2 separate regions of the Homo sapiens genome follow, and region 2 is linked to region 1. Evidence: promoter capture Hi-C in 16 types of primary human blood cells and fetal thymus (Javierre and others, 2016). All regions are on one chromosome and are shown on one strand. The core of a region is centred on a gene start or on the middle of the fragment in contact, and the rest is flanking DNA. Distances in the headings are between cores, read along the strand shown. Region 1 holds the start of GOLGA7 (golgin A7). Region 2 holds the start of THAP1 (THAP domain containing 1).

Region 1 (7,260 bases), core at 3,392-5,891:
TTTTTTTTTTTTTTTTTTTTGAGACAGAGTCTCACTCTGTCACCCTGGCTGGAGTGCAGTGGCGCAATCTTGGCTCACTGTAACCTCTGGTCCCAGGATCAAGTGATTCTCGTGTCTCAGCCTCCCGAGTAGCTGGGATTACAGGCGTGCACCACCATTCCCTACTAATTTTTGTATTTTTAGTAGAGACGAGGTTTTGCCATGTTGCCAGGCTGGTCTCAGGCTCCTAGCCTCATGTGATCCACCCCCCTGGCCTCCCAAAGAGCCACCTGCACCTGGCCTCAAGAACATAATCTTTTAAAGTGTAAAACAATTCATGACCATCCTTAAGCTATGACAACTCTTTAAGTTAGAAGCAGTTGTAGTCATTGTTTTGTCCGTTGTGTGGAAAATGTGAGGAGTCAATGGGCTAGTGGCATGCATGAATTTAATGCAAACTTTAAAGTGGTGTTGGCTCTACCCATTTTTCAAAAGGAGTTACTTTAAATTTCCAGGAATATTAGAGATTTGGACAAAGGCTAGGTGGGTCAAGACGGCCTTTAAACGCAGGGGCAGTGTTTCTTCACTGAGCTACCCCTTGTAGATGTGGTGTCAAGGCTGGTCATCTGGGAAACTGTGAGTTCTCATTCACGAAAACAGACTGAGGAGAGCTCAGCAAACAAAAATGGTAAGCTGTTACGTTCACCTAATTATGCCTACGTTAATGCCTTCAGTTTGTCCACCGATAAGTCTACAAAAGTCTAAATAATTCCAATCACATTTGATGTGCCTATGTTATAAGTCATTGAATTATTTATATTTCTTTACAATACAATTCAAAACCATGGGATTCAACCCAGAAACATCTTATTTCTTTCATATCAGAATTACTGTTTATCCCGGAAACCCTAATTATTATTATTTTTTAAGTTTAGTGACAGAGTATCGCTATGTTGCCCAGACTGGTCTTGAACTCCTGGCCCCAAGGGATACTCCTACCTCAACCCCCAGAGCAGCTGGGATTACTTGGGTGCAAACCACCATGCCCAGCCAGAAACACTTAATTCTTATGCGTTATTCCGAGATTACAATGCCCTATAGGTTAGAGGTAAATCATACGTCAGTTAAACAAACAAACAAAAAAAGGTTAATAAAAAAAGAAAAAGAAAGGATAAATGGTTAAAGAAAAGTAAATGCCAACAAGTTTTTGAAAGGTTATTTTAAAAAAGGGAAATAAAGGGTAAAAATCACAGAAGGCATCAATAAAGGCAAACGACAAACTTCACAAGAAAGGGCTCAAGAGAACAAATGTTGGCATTTGTATCTTACTACCTTTAGGCTATGAATAACAGTGGCCAGTGTTCTCCCTTAGGTTCCTGGACACTGATACAGGAGCTCTATCAAAATTTAGATATATGAGAAGTCACAGCCAAATAAAATTTGGACCCACAAACATCAAAAATCAGAATGGAAAGAGAAATCAGGCTTATTTTCCCAGAATTACTGTGAACTACACAGTAGAAAGCATGGTGAAGCATGCAGTGATCACGTATCAAGGGTGGCAGGTCAAAGGTAATTACTAACCAGATGGGGAGACATATTTTTAAAGGGAAAAAATGCCTCAATTACAGTTCACTCATTCTTCTACCCAGACCAAGGGTAACTAAGATATCTGTATTTTAAGGCTAATGAGAATAAAGTTTCCTTTAAGGAATTGTTCTGGCAACAAATCGCTTAAGCATCAAAGTATTACATTCTAAAAGGCAGCAGAGAAAATGAACTTGTTAACAGACAGAACCTATCCTACTCCCAAATTAAAGGGCACAAATGTGTGTGTATTTTTAAAAAATGCTTTAAAATAATACAAAACACTTGCATATTAGTCACTTTCTCTATTATGTTGCCAAGTGTGATGTTCTCACAAAAGGAAAATCAGCTCCAATAGCAGAGCAATCAGTAAAATTTCTAGGGTAAGTAGTAGAGAAACAGAAACCTTTCAATTTTTCATCAAAGCAAGGAAAGTTTAAACCTGTAATTTAAATTTAATCTCAACACACATACACAGACAATCAAAGCTTTTCTAGTGGTTTAAAGCATAAGCTAGTGTTTTAACCCAAACATTTAAAAAGAAAAAAGAAATTCAAAGGCACAATTGAAGAGTGCCATGTAACATTCCATATAGTACTCAGTACCACAAGCAGTTCTGGGCTATACAGAGTCAAAGAGGTAAAAGGACTCCAGAATTTAGAAACATCAATTTCCTGACAAGAATCAGTGGAGCACAGTAACTACATTGTGCTTTTGCACTTAGATTACAAAATAAAGGCTCTGCCACACACAGAGTGGAAGGCTAATGTCTGATTCTGTGTATACACATTTAGCTCAAATATATGAGGTGTAAGTGTTGCTTTAAAACCTTAAAGCAAAGGAATCTTTAATGTCCAAATAATTGTGGTAAAAAAAGAATACTTTATATTCTGATTTTGAAGTACATAAATTGTATGTCATAGTTTCCGTAAGAGGCTTAAAAATAAAACATTTGATTGATTCCATGTATATCTTTTTATTTGATTTATTTTTTGAGACAAGAGTCTTGCTCTGTCGCCCAGGCTGGAGTACAATGGCATGATCTCGGCTCACTGCAACCTCCGCCTCCCAGGTTCAAGAAATTCTTCTACTTCAGCCTCCTGAGTAGCGGGGATTACAGGTGCCCGCCACCATGCCTGACTAATTTTTGTATTTTTAGTAGAGATGGGGTTTCACCATGTTGGCCAAGCTGGTCTTGAATTCCCGACCTCAAGTGATGCACCCGCCACGGCCTCCCAGAGTGCTGGGATTACAGGCGTGAGCCACCGGGCCCAGCCAGATTCCATGTCAATCTTAACATGTAAAACACATCAATTGTGATGTTAAATTATTTTAAAACAACATTCAGTAGCTCTACCCAACTGGCCACTTGCTGAATTTCTACCTCTTCAAACCACTGTAGATAGTTCCACCTATTGTCACGCTCAGTTAACTCATAACATAGTTGACAACATACTGCAGCATTTAAATGGCATTTCAGAAACAAGTCACCTCACCATCTTTTAAAGGCATATTTGATCCATTTGCAATTCAAGAAACATATTTGGGCCATGAAGCTGCCCATGGTTATGTCAAACTGAAGGAAACTATAATGGATCATTGTTGATTTCCCAACCATGGAAATCGGGCAGTGCAACCCACCTCACTGCAAACTGACTGTAAATAACTGCTACACATTTCTCTACACAGACTCATCCACACCCACTTATCCCATGACCAGCATCTCTCAGTCCCACACCCAAGGAATGCCTAATCACCTCTCAGGCCCTCGTCCTCCCTGTCACAGAGGAGAGAGCCACAAAACCTGCTTCCAGCTAACCAGAAATTGATCCCTGAACGGGAAACACAATCTACATAACATGGGTCAAGACCAAAAGAATCTTTGGTTGAATGTACATATGTGGGCACACAAAAACACAGGCAGGCACGCACACACTCCATTACCTCTACAACAAGATACAATGATTTTTTTTTTTTTTTTAAAGTTTTGCTAGGTCTGAAGGGGAAGCAAATCCCATTCTTCCATTTTTGCCTGCAATGTTGCCCAAAGGACCTATATCCTGATGACCATTTTGATATGCAAGACAAAACAGGTGGCTCCCAGTGAATGTGACAAGTTTAAGGCCTTGTTCTGAGACATTTTCCTGTCCAGGCCTATCTAACGCCCGACGTCTTTAAGGTTCCAAGAAAGCCTGAACGCACCGCCTGGCCATGCACCTAATAAACCCTTTCAGCCAAACAGTGCGGCCAGCACAGAGGCAGCAAACACCAGTCACGAGAATGATGATGATTTATCTTGCGCGGAGAGGTAGGAGGATATAGTTTACAACCTGGTGACTGAGACGACCTGGAGCCTCAGGAATTGGCTCCTCATCGCTGCCGACAATAACCCGGGGTGGGGATTTGGGGGAGTGCAGCAGGGGAACACTGCTGGATCCAGATTCCCGGCACCGGGCAACAAAGTTCCATAAGGTCGTCAACCCCGGCGATCGGCCTATATTATTCTTCCTGCTCCAAACACCTGTCTTGCTTAGTGGCTCTCTTCTTACACGTTTGGCCAAGGCCCCTTCTGTGCCTGGACCTCCCCAGAACTGCGGGACCCTCAAAGGCCCGGTTGTCGCCCACACCCTTCCCGTCCCCGGTGAGTCTCTCTCCCTCGCCAGAGCAGGCGTGGGGAGCCAGGTTGCGTACCCGGTTCTCCAGCTCCGCAGGGAACTTGGTCTGGAACTGGCAGCGTGTGCCACTGCTGTAGTCTCGCTGAATGAACACCTTTCCGGACACCGGCGCCTGCTGCGGCCTCATGGCGAGGACAGGACACCCCGCGCTGCGGGGTCGGGGGAACACCAACCGCGAGTCAGAGCCCCGGCCTGGACCCGGGACTCTGACCCGCCAGCCCCTCGCCCCCACCCGCCGCCGAAAACAGCCCAAGGCCTCCTCTGCCCCGCTCCCCTTCACCCATGCTGTCACCGCGGGCCTTAGCTGCCGCCTGGCCCAGGCCCCGCGCCCCCCACAACCCGGTTCGGCCCGGGAAACACAAACCCGCCTCCTCTGCCCTCCAGCTGCTGTCGCACCGCCTTCGCCGTCACTTACGTCCTGCCGCAAAAAGCCTCTTCCCCGCCCCTCAGCTCGGCCTCCTACCTCAGGTCTGGGACCCACCCTCTCCTCCGGCCGTAAAGCCACCCTGCCGAAGCTGCGCGCTGTGGGGCTGGGCCGAGGAAGGGAAATGATGTGGGCGGGGCCAGGGCCGACCCCGCCTTCCGCCCGCGCGGGGATTGTTTCCGGAAGGAGAGAGGCGGGGCGAGCTGTGGGGCTGCGGCCGGGGCGAGCTGTGGGGCTGCGGCCGGCGCGAGCGCGCGGGGGTGTGAGGGGCGGAGTTTCCCGGCTGTGTCACTTCCCTAGTGATTGTGGCAGGTGGTTCCCGATCACTGATTGTGAGGGGTCATTTTCGTTCTTGATTGGACGTCGCAGCTTACGTGTGGGTTATGCCACCCAACTCATACACAAAACAAAAAACAAAACATAAAGAAAAAACAACACCCCCTCCCCAAACCCTCAAACACAAACTGCTCATTGTGTTCAGAAGTAGAAAGCAGGCTCCAAGGATGGATCCATTTGGTCCCTAGACTCTTGAGAAAGGGTCAGGAAGTGAGGACGAAGAACCTGCCTGGGCCCCAGCGTTGGGCGCCCCTGCCCCGACTCTTCTTTGGGGGCGGCGTTCCTCTCACCCCCCATTTCCACCCAGCTCCCATCCACATCCCTCAGGTGACCAAGGGGACAAGTGGTTCCGCCCTCGTTGCCCACTGGCCCTTACTTGACTCAGCATTTCTTTGCAAGGCAGCCAAAGAAACCCCACCTTACCCTTGTCTCCTGCTAATACAACCTGTTAGTACCACTGTCTTTTATATATTTAATATAGTTTAAATATCCTGCCTTTTAAATATGAAAAATTCTCTTACTGTATTTTAAAAACAGCTTTTTCGAGATATAAATGGCATACAATAAACCACACATTTAAAGCAGTGGATTTGATAACTTTGGACATATGAATACACCCATAAACCACTGTCACAATCAAGATAGTAAAGCTCCATTGCCCTGAAAAGGTTCCTCCAGCTCCTGTGTAATCTCTCCCTCCTGCCTCTCCCAGACCCCATTTCCCAGGCACTGATCCACCTTCTGTCACTCAACATTAGTTTCATTTCCTTGAATTTTATATAAATTGAATCATATAGTGTGTACCCCCTTTTTTTGCCTGGCTTCTTTCACATAGACTATTTTGAAGTCCATCTGTTGTTGTGTTATCAATAATTCATTTATTTTTGATGCTGGATAGCTATTCCATTGTATGGCCATCCCACAGTTTGTTTATCCATTCATCTGTTGATGGACATTTGGATTGCTTCCAGTTTTGGGATGTTACAAATAAAGCTGCTATGGACATTCATTTGCAAGTCTTTGCATAGGTGTGTAGACCTTAATGCTTTCATTTCTCTTGGGTACATACCTAGGAGTAGAATGGCTAGATTGTACGGTAAAAACACGTTTAACTTTTTGGCAGACTGACAAACTGTTTTCCAAAGTGGTGACACCATTTTGCATTCCCACCAGAGTTCCAGTTGCTCCACATCTTTGCCAAGACTTGGGTAGTAATATCTTCTGCAGCTATAATTTTCATTTTTCCATGACTAATTATTTTGAACATATTTTCCTGTACTTATTTGCCATCCATGTATCTTCTCTGGTGAAGTGTCTATTTAAAACTTTTGCCCATTTTTTTGTTTGTATTTTATTTTCCTGTTGTTGAGGGGTTTTTTGTTTTATTTTGTTTTGATTTACATCTTTATTGGCTGGGCTTAAGGTCAGTTTTAAATTTTTAAGGCACTTTAATTCTTGGATTTTTGTATGTTTAAAGATGTTTTCCTGAGGCCTTTATACTTGCGTGAGAACTTGGCCGGGCTGTTTTTGAGTTTTGAGTTCTTTATACATTCTGGAGAAAAATCCTTTATCAGATATGTGATTTGCATGCATTTTTCACAGTCTGTGATTTGTCTTTTTACTCTCTTAACACGTTAGGGGTTTGAGGGGATTAGGGTGTGGACCTCTTGGGGAGGGCATTTCTGCCTCCCATAGGTATAGAGTGAAACTCTTCCCTCCCCCCGTATGATTATGCAGTTGTTATTCAGTTGTTTACGTACCATTTGTTGAAAAGACTCTCATTTCTTCACTGAATTGCCTTTGTATCTCTGTTGAAAATCAGTGGGGGCCGGGCGCGGTGGCTCACGCCTGTAATCCCAGCACTTTGAGAGGCCGAGGCGGGCGGATCACGAGGTCAGGAGATCGAGATCATTCTGGCTAACACGGTGAAACCCCGTGTCTACTAAAAATACAAAAAATGAGCCGGGCGCCGTGGCGGGCGCCTATAAGTCCCAGCTACTCGAGAGGCTGAGGCAGGAGAATGGGGTGAACTCGGGAGGCGGAGCTTGCAGTGAGCGGAGATAGTGCCACTGCACTCCGGCCTGGGCTAAAGAGCGAGACTCTGTCTCAAAAAAAAAAAAAAAAAAAAAAAGAAAAAGAAAATCAGTGGTGTGTGTGTGTGTGTGTGTGTCTGTCTGTCTGTCCCTCTGTCTGCCTGTTTTGGACTTTCTATTCCGTTTCATGATCTGATCCTGTTTTGAATTAAATGTCTACTAGTGT
Region 2 (7,260 bases), core at 1,571-4,070, 1.4 Mb before region 1:
AGGGAGATGATGGTGGAAGAGTAGAAGTACTTGGTCTTAAAGAGCTTTATAATTCACCATAAGAAGTTTGGATTTTATTCAGTACAGCAGGTAGCCTTGGAAGGATATGAGCAAGGGCGTGGCAGGCATGCACCACCCTTCTATAGAAGATAGAATGGAGAGAGGTAAAACTGGAGACTAGGATAGTTAAGGGGTTGCTGCAAGGTTAAGACCATGAGAGCTTGGTCAAGAACAGTGAGGAGGCCAGGTGCCGTGGCTCACGCCTGTAGTCCCAGGACTTTGGGAGGCCCTGGCTGACAGATAGCTTAAACCCAGGAGTTTGAGACCAGCCTGGGCAACACAGTGAGACCTCATCTCTGTTAAATATAATAATAAAAATAATTAAAGAACAGTGAGGGTTGGGCGCAGTGGCTCACGCCTGTAATCCCAACACTTTGGGAGGCCGAGGCAGGCGTATCACCTGAGGTCAGGAGTTCGAGTCCAGCCTGGCCAACATGGTGAAACCCCATCTCTACAAAAATACAAAAATTAGCCAGGCATGGTGGCGGGTGCCTGTAATCCCAGCTACTTAGGAGGCTGAGGCGGGATAATCGCTTGAACCCAGGAGGCGGAGGTTGCAGTGAACTGAGATTGTGCCACTGCACTCCAGACTGAGCGACAGAGTGAGACTCCCTCTCAAAAAAAAAAACAAAAAAAAAAACAACAACAACAGTGAGGAGACATGAAGAGGGATGGATTTAAGGGGCATTTATTTATTTAGTCTACAAAATTAACCTGGTCATCAACGGGTTTTATGGGTGACAAAAAAAATCCAAGATGACTCCAAGGTTTCTGGTTTAGACAACTGTTGAACAGATAATTCACAGATGATAATTCACAGATGATAATCCCAAAGGCAGAACGGATATACAAAGGAAATAAAAGATGAGAGAATTATGGTATTTGGTTCAGTTTAAGGAGCAGGGTGTTTAGGAGTTAGAGGAGGGCAGAAGATGGAACCCTGGGGAAACAGCAACATTTAAAAGGGCAGGAAAGGTAGAGAATAAGGGCCAAGGGATTACTCAACAGTCCGCTCTCCAGGTCTGCCTGGCTCAGATCTATATAAAGAAAAGGAGCAGGGAATGAAGTAAAACTGTTACAGGAAAGGGGTCCCAATCCAGACCCCAAGACAGGGTTCTTGGATCTCACGCAAGACAGAATTCAGGGCAAGTCCACAGTACAAAGCAAAAGCAAGTTTATTAAGAACGTAAAGTGGTGAAAGTACAGCTACTCCACAGACAGAGTAGGGCATTCCCGAAAGTAAGAGGAGGAACGCGTCCACCCTAAGTACAACACTTAGTTTATATATAGGATAAAAAAAGATCATGGGGAGATGTGCTTTGCTACAAGGGTTTGTGATAAAGGATTAATTACTATATTATGTAAGAATCGATATTATCTTTATTTATGAGACAGAGTCTTACTCTGTCGCCCAGGCTGGAGTGCAGTGGTGCAAGCACGGCTCACTGCAACCCCCGCCTCCCGGATTCAAGCGATTATCCTGCCTCAGCCTCCAGAGTAGCTGAAATTCGAGGGCATGTGCCACCACACCCGGTTAATTTTTGTATTTTTAGTAGAGACGTTTTCACCATGTTGACCAGGCTAGTCTTGAACTCCTGACCTCAAGTGATCCGCCCGCCTCGGCCTTCCAAAGTGCTGGGATTACAGGCGTGAGGCACTGTGCCCAGCCCAATATTATTATCTTTAAAGCAAAATTAGGAATGCTTCTGTTCTCAAAATATCGGGATATCTGGACACTTGGTAGTCTGGGTCTGTGTAGTAAACATTATCAATCTGTTGCCTTAATGGTATACACATCTAGAGGCTAGGAATACCTAACTTCCCGGGAATGCAGCCCAGCAAGTCCCAGCCTCATTTTCCTAGCCCTCACTCAACACAGAGTCGCTCTAGTTCGAACCCCTCTAACATATTCTCTCTCAGGTGTGAAAATTGCTGCAGCAGTTCGCTATTTGCAACACAGCACATGGAAATCACAGCAATGGAGAGCCTTCAGAAAAGCTTCTGGGGAGGGACAGCCTGGTGGCTCAACTCCTGTAATCCCAACCCATGGGGAGGTCGAGATGGGAGGATCCCTTGAGCTCGAGTTCCAGACTGACCTGGGCAACGTGGGGAGACAACGCCTCTATTTATTTAAAAAATTACATATATATATATATATATACATACACACACACATATATACATACACACATATATACATACATATACATACATATATATAAAACGCTTCTGCGTTGGCAATTGAGATGATTTGGCGAGTGTGTCTTTTTTCATTGCTAAAAATCTGTCACGTTGGCTCTCACAGAAACTTGTGATACCTGAAGACACAGGTAATGGGATAAAGATTAGCACTCTGGGAAAAGGTTCCACAATTTTATTAATCATACACCATCTGTGTCCGCCCTTTTAAAGAAATGGGCGCAATCAGCCAACGACCTCGGCTTTACACCTGTTCTCCAAGAGGCCCTAGTTGTTCCCTACTGTAAGCTGCCCCAGAAAAGGTCCGCATCAATTAACCCACGGGAACAGCCCGGGGCTGGAGGATGCCCCAGGAATCCGGCCTCCCGCCGCGCCTCCTCCCCCCACAAGCAGTTCCTTCCTGCCTGCCGGAAGCTCAGGGCTCCGCCCACTTCGGCAACTCTGAAGCCACCGCCGGAAACACCTGGCCTCAGCCAATAGTTAGCTTCCCAGGAAACGTTACCTCTGACCTCGGGGCTAATCAGAGACAGTGGGACGCACCCCTCGCGAGAGGTGAGGTTGAAGCTGCCTCCGCCATCTTGGAGATGGGAGACGGGCGATGGCTGTGGTCCTTCTGCTAATGCAAACAACAAAACGGGCACACTAGTCACCCCCGAGGGAGGCCACCATCACTGTAACTGTTGGCCAAAGCTACAAAAGAAGCGAGGGAATCCAACCGAGCGCAGCGACACTGAGAACAGCTTCCCCTGCCTTCTGCGGCGGCAGAAGTGAAGTGCCTGAGGACCGGAAGGATGGTGCAGTCCTGCTCCGCCTACGGCTGCAAGAACCGCTACGACAAGGACAAGCCCGTTTCTTTCCACAAGTGAGGACCCTGCGCGCCTCGCGGGGCCGGTCTCAGCCGGGGTGGGGGCGCGCGGCCGGCGGGGCCGGGGGCGGAGCCAGGCGCGTGTCCGCGCGAGGGGCGGGTGGGGTCTGGGGCCGGCCGTGTCGGGCGTTTCCCACCGCGTCCCGCTGGGAACCGCCGCCCGATCGCGCGTTCTCGGCGCGCGTCGCCGCGGCAGCCGTTTCTCGCGCTCCTGGAACAGGCCCTGGTTGCAGGCTTCGCTCACGGCCTGGGTTGACGCGTTCGGAGCCCACGGGCGATGCCTAGGGTGGCGCGGGTTTTGCCACCACCAGGGTCACAGAGCAGCCAGGTGTTTTAATATGGTCTTAGGGGTAAATTTAAAATAGAAACAAAGGCCTTTAAACGAAGAAATCACTACTTTTCGCCCTTGCCGTGGATGGGAGGCCAGCATCGTAGCAATTAAGGGTTTTTTGGCTGGGAAATCAGGGAGAATTTTTGCCCCCAATCTCTAGGAACTAAGCTTTAAGGACCCTGTATTTTGGAGAAAGCTTCAGGTACTGCCGAGATAAATCGTTATCTTTTCAGCACACAATAATGATAATATGGACAGTTACAACATGGATCATAATAAAATGACTCACACGGATCTTTATTTATTATGGCATTACCTGTGCATAGAGAAAGCTCTTTCGAAAGAAACTGCCCCACAGCTTTCAGAGCTGTCTTATCCAGTAGGTAGCACAGTTAAGTGATAGGATCAAAAATATTCTCTTGAAAATAGGAAAAAAGTGCAGAGTTGTAATTACTTATGATAAACGCTTGTAAAATGTGACATAACATTTTCATTCAGCTGAATTTGTTTACAAATTTTAATTACATTTATGTTAAGTTTTCTTTGCAAGAATTCCTGACAGCTATACGCAGATGATAGGTAAGAAATCAGATCCAGGGGTAAACTATACAGATTAGCCATAGGTAATTAGCTAATTATCTTTTATAATTAGGTAAATAATTACAAAAGCAAAATGTTAAATATCTTTTCAGTTAATTTATTTTTTTGCTGTGGGGCCATCTGTGTTTACTAGGGGAGTGTCCATGCATTTTTTAAATATGTTTGATATCATGTGAGATGGACCCTATAGAAATAAGAGTGTGTAGAACATAGAGAGGTCTCCAGAGTAATAATGTTACCCCTTGGAGAAGGGGATAGAACACTTAGAGGATTCAGTTCAGGATATCCTAATATTATCTCTTGATTTAATTGGAATTTCTGTAAACATGTTCTTTCTAAATGTAGGGAAAGGTCAGGTGATGGTAACAGGATTACATGCCCAGCTCCCCACCCACATTTCTGATGGCTTGGCAGAAGGAATCTAAAATTATGGAAAATGTTTCATTGGCACTGGAAACTAGTTTAAAGAGGGTATTCACACGTCGGAAATAACTGTTTTTGTCGAGGCACGATGGCTCATGCCTGTAATTCCCAGCACTTGGGGAGGCCAAGGTGGGCGGATCACCTGACGTCAGGAGTTCGAGACCAGCCTGGCCAACATGGCAAAATCCCGTCTCTACTAAAAATACAAAATACAGGCGTACGCCTGTAATCTTAGCTACTTGGGAGGCTGAGGTAGGGGAATCACTTGAACCTGGGATATGGAGGTTGCAGTGAGCTGAGATCTTGCCCTGCACTCCAGCTTGGGTAACAGAGTGAGACTCCATCTCAAAAAAAAAAAAAAAAAAAAAAAAAGATACAACTGTTTCTGCTAGATGTTAAGCAGATATGGATTGAATCAAAAGAAGGGCTAACCTGCATCTTATCCCTTATCTAAAATAGCAGGTTTAGGGAGAGTAGATGGGAAAGATCTTAAGAGAATCTCACAAACAGCTGTAAATTTGTTGTCCTTGAGCCAGGAGGCCCTAGGTACTGAATTTTACCAGCAAATGCTACCATAGTTTATACTTACAGAGCCAGGAGGCCATAGGTACTGAATTTTACCAGCAAATGCTACCCTAGTTTATACTTATAGAGGCCGTTCCAGTTGAGATTTTCTTTCTTTTTTTTTTTTTTTTTTTTTTGAGATGGAGTCTTGCTCTGTCACCAGGCTAGAGTGCAGTGGCACGATCTCAGCTCAGTGCAACCTCTGCCTCCCGAGTTCAAGTGATTCTCCTGCCTCAGCCTCCCAAGTAGCTGGGACTACAGGTGTGCACCACCACGCCCAGCTAATTTTTGTATTTTTAGTAGAGACAGGGTTTCACCATGTTGGCCAGGATGGTCTCCATACTTCGACCTCCTGATCCGCCCTCCTCAGCCTCCCAAAGTGCTGGGATTACAGGCCTGATTACAGGCCATGCCCAGCCCCAGCTGAGATTTTCTAGGAGTACCACTTCTCCCACCCTCTACATAGTGGCAGCGGAGAGTGCTATGTCGTACAAAGAAAAGGGACTGTCATAAAGATCTCTTACTAGCAGAGTCAGGCTCTAGCATATCGTACATGGAAGAGAGACTGTGAAACATAAATTTGAAATTCCCTTCCCTTTTTCTTTCTAATCCCCCCAGTTTACCAAATTCTTAACTTGGAAGAGTAAAATTACCACAATAAATGTAAACTCTCACTATCCCCGTTTACCTGGGCCTAATGGACATCCCAGTTGATTAGAAAATAAATTCTTTCGTTATTATCTGCCTTTAATTCAAATTTAGCCTATTCATATTTGTCAGACTGATGCTAAGAGAACTAGAAGCCCCTTTTTCCCAGTACGCAGATACAAATGTGCAATCTTTGTCTCTCTGTGCAGCACACAGAAAATTACTGGTAAAAAATATGAATACAGGTTATTTTTTTCTTTTTGAGACGGTATGGCTCTGTCACCCAGGCTGGAGTGCAGTGGAATGATCTCAGCTCACCGCAGCCTTGACCTCCCAGGCTCGAGCAGTCCTTCCACCTCAGTCTCAGCCTCCTGAGTACCTGGGCACATACCACCATGCCCAGCTAATTTTTGTGTCTTTTGTAGAGACAGGGTTTTGCCGTGTTGCCCAGGCTAGTCTCGAACTCTTGGACTTAAGTAGTCCCTCGGACAGTGGCCTCCCAAGTGCTGGGATTACAGGCATGAGCCGTGGGCACATTTACTCTATAGTATGTATTTTACCTGAATCTTTTGGTGAACTCAGTATAAAAAGTTAAACGTTAATGAATGAGGGCCAGGCACAGTGGCTCACGCATGTAATTCGAGCACTTTGGGAGGCCAAGGCGGGCAGATCACAAGGTCAAGAAATCGAATCCATCCTGGCCAACATGGTGAAAGCCCATCTCTACTAAAAGTACAAAACTTAGCTGGGCGTGGTGGCGCACGCCTGAGTCCCAGCTACTTGGGAGGCTGAGGCAGGAGAATCGCTTGAACCTGGGAGGCGGAGACGCAGTGAGCCGAGATTGCACCACTGCACTCCAGCCTAACAACAGAGCAAGACGGCATCTCAAAAAAATTTTTAAAAAATTAATAAATGAGATAAATAGATAACTAGAGCTAATCTTTAATCCAATAGGATAATACAATTGTAACATCTTTAATACCAATGTAAGATATTTCCTAAGCTGGAAAGTTTGGGTGCCTTTATTTATTTAAAAAATCAGGACAGATAATTGAATTATGCCTTCTTCTTAGGTTTCCTCTTACTCGACCCAGTCTTTGTAAAGAATGGGAGGCAGCTGTCAGAAGAAAAAACTTTAAACCCACCAAGTATAGCAGTATTTGTTCAGAGCACTTTACTCCAGACTGCTTTAAGAGAGAGTGCAACAACAAGTTACTGAAAGAGAATGCTGTGCCCACAATATTTCTTTGTACTGAGCCACATGACAAGGTAATATGCATTTTAAAATATTGGGTTGCTTTTTGTTTATCAAACTGATGTGTTCATTGATTAAAATGTGGAAAATTGAGTTAGTGTTAAGAGAATAAATGTGCCTGGAACCTTGTAGTTAACAGTGATACACTTCTGAAAACACAAAATGCAGTTTATTAAAGATAAATATCCTCACACTAAGAAACTTAGTCCAGCTTTGTAACTTAGTTAAAAACCACTCTGTACTGCCAGTTATATATTGATAAGTTTTGGGTTTTCTTTATCAGTGACAGTTTAGTTTCAAAGCATTTTTTTCTCC

What was found. The method cuts DNA at HindIII sites, captures the fragments that hold promoters and counts their contacts. A CHiCAGO score of 5 or more calls a contact.
Region 2: a contact is called between the fragment with the promoter of THAP1 here and the fragment with the promoter of GOLGA7 in region 1, in 5 of 17 cell types (fetal thymus, naive CD4 T cells, naive CD8 T cells and 2 more). The highest score is 6.3, in fetal thymus.

What each region holds. Positions count from the first base shown.
Region 1 is chr8:41,487,963-41,495,222 of GRCh38, reverse strand. It overlaps GOLGA7 (golgin A7), which reads right to left and starts at 4,641. Exons shown (of 5, transcript NM_001002296.2): 1 at 4,258-4,641. The coding sequence starts at 4,368. RefSeq lists enhancers at 4,011-4,120, 4,171-4,280, 4,571-4,700 and a silencer at 4,751-5,010. The HindIII fragment of the contact is 7,658 bases long and covers 2,057-7,260 here.
Region 2 is chr8:42,838,885-42,846,144 of GRCh38, reverse strand. THAP1 (THAP domain containing 1) reads left to right here and starts at 2,820. Exons shown (of 3, transcript NM_018105.3): 1 at 2,820-3,121; 2 at 6,764-6,959. The coding sequence starts at 3,051. It overlaps LOC124901940 (a long non-coding RNA gene), which reads right to left and starts at 3,211. Exons shown (of 2, transcript XR_007060901.1): 1 at 2,762-3,211; 2 at 733-2,378. RefSeq lists enhancers at 2,742-3,101, 2,437-3,227 and a silencer at 3,132-3,221. The HindIII fragment of the contact is 1,565 bases long and covers 2,061-3,625 here.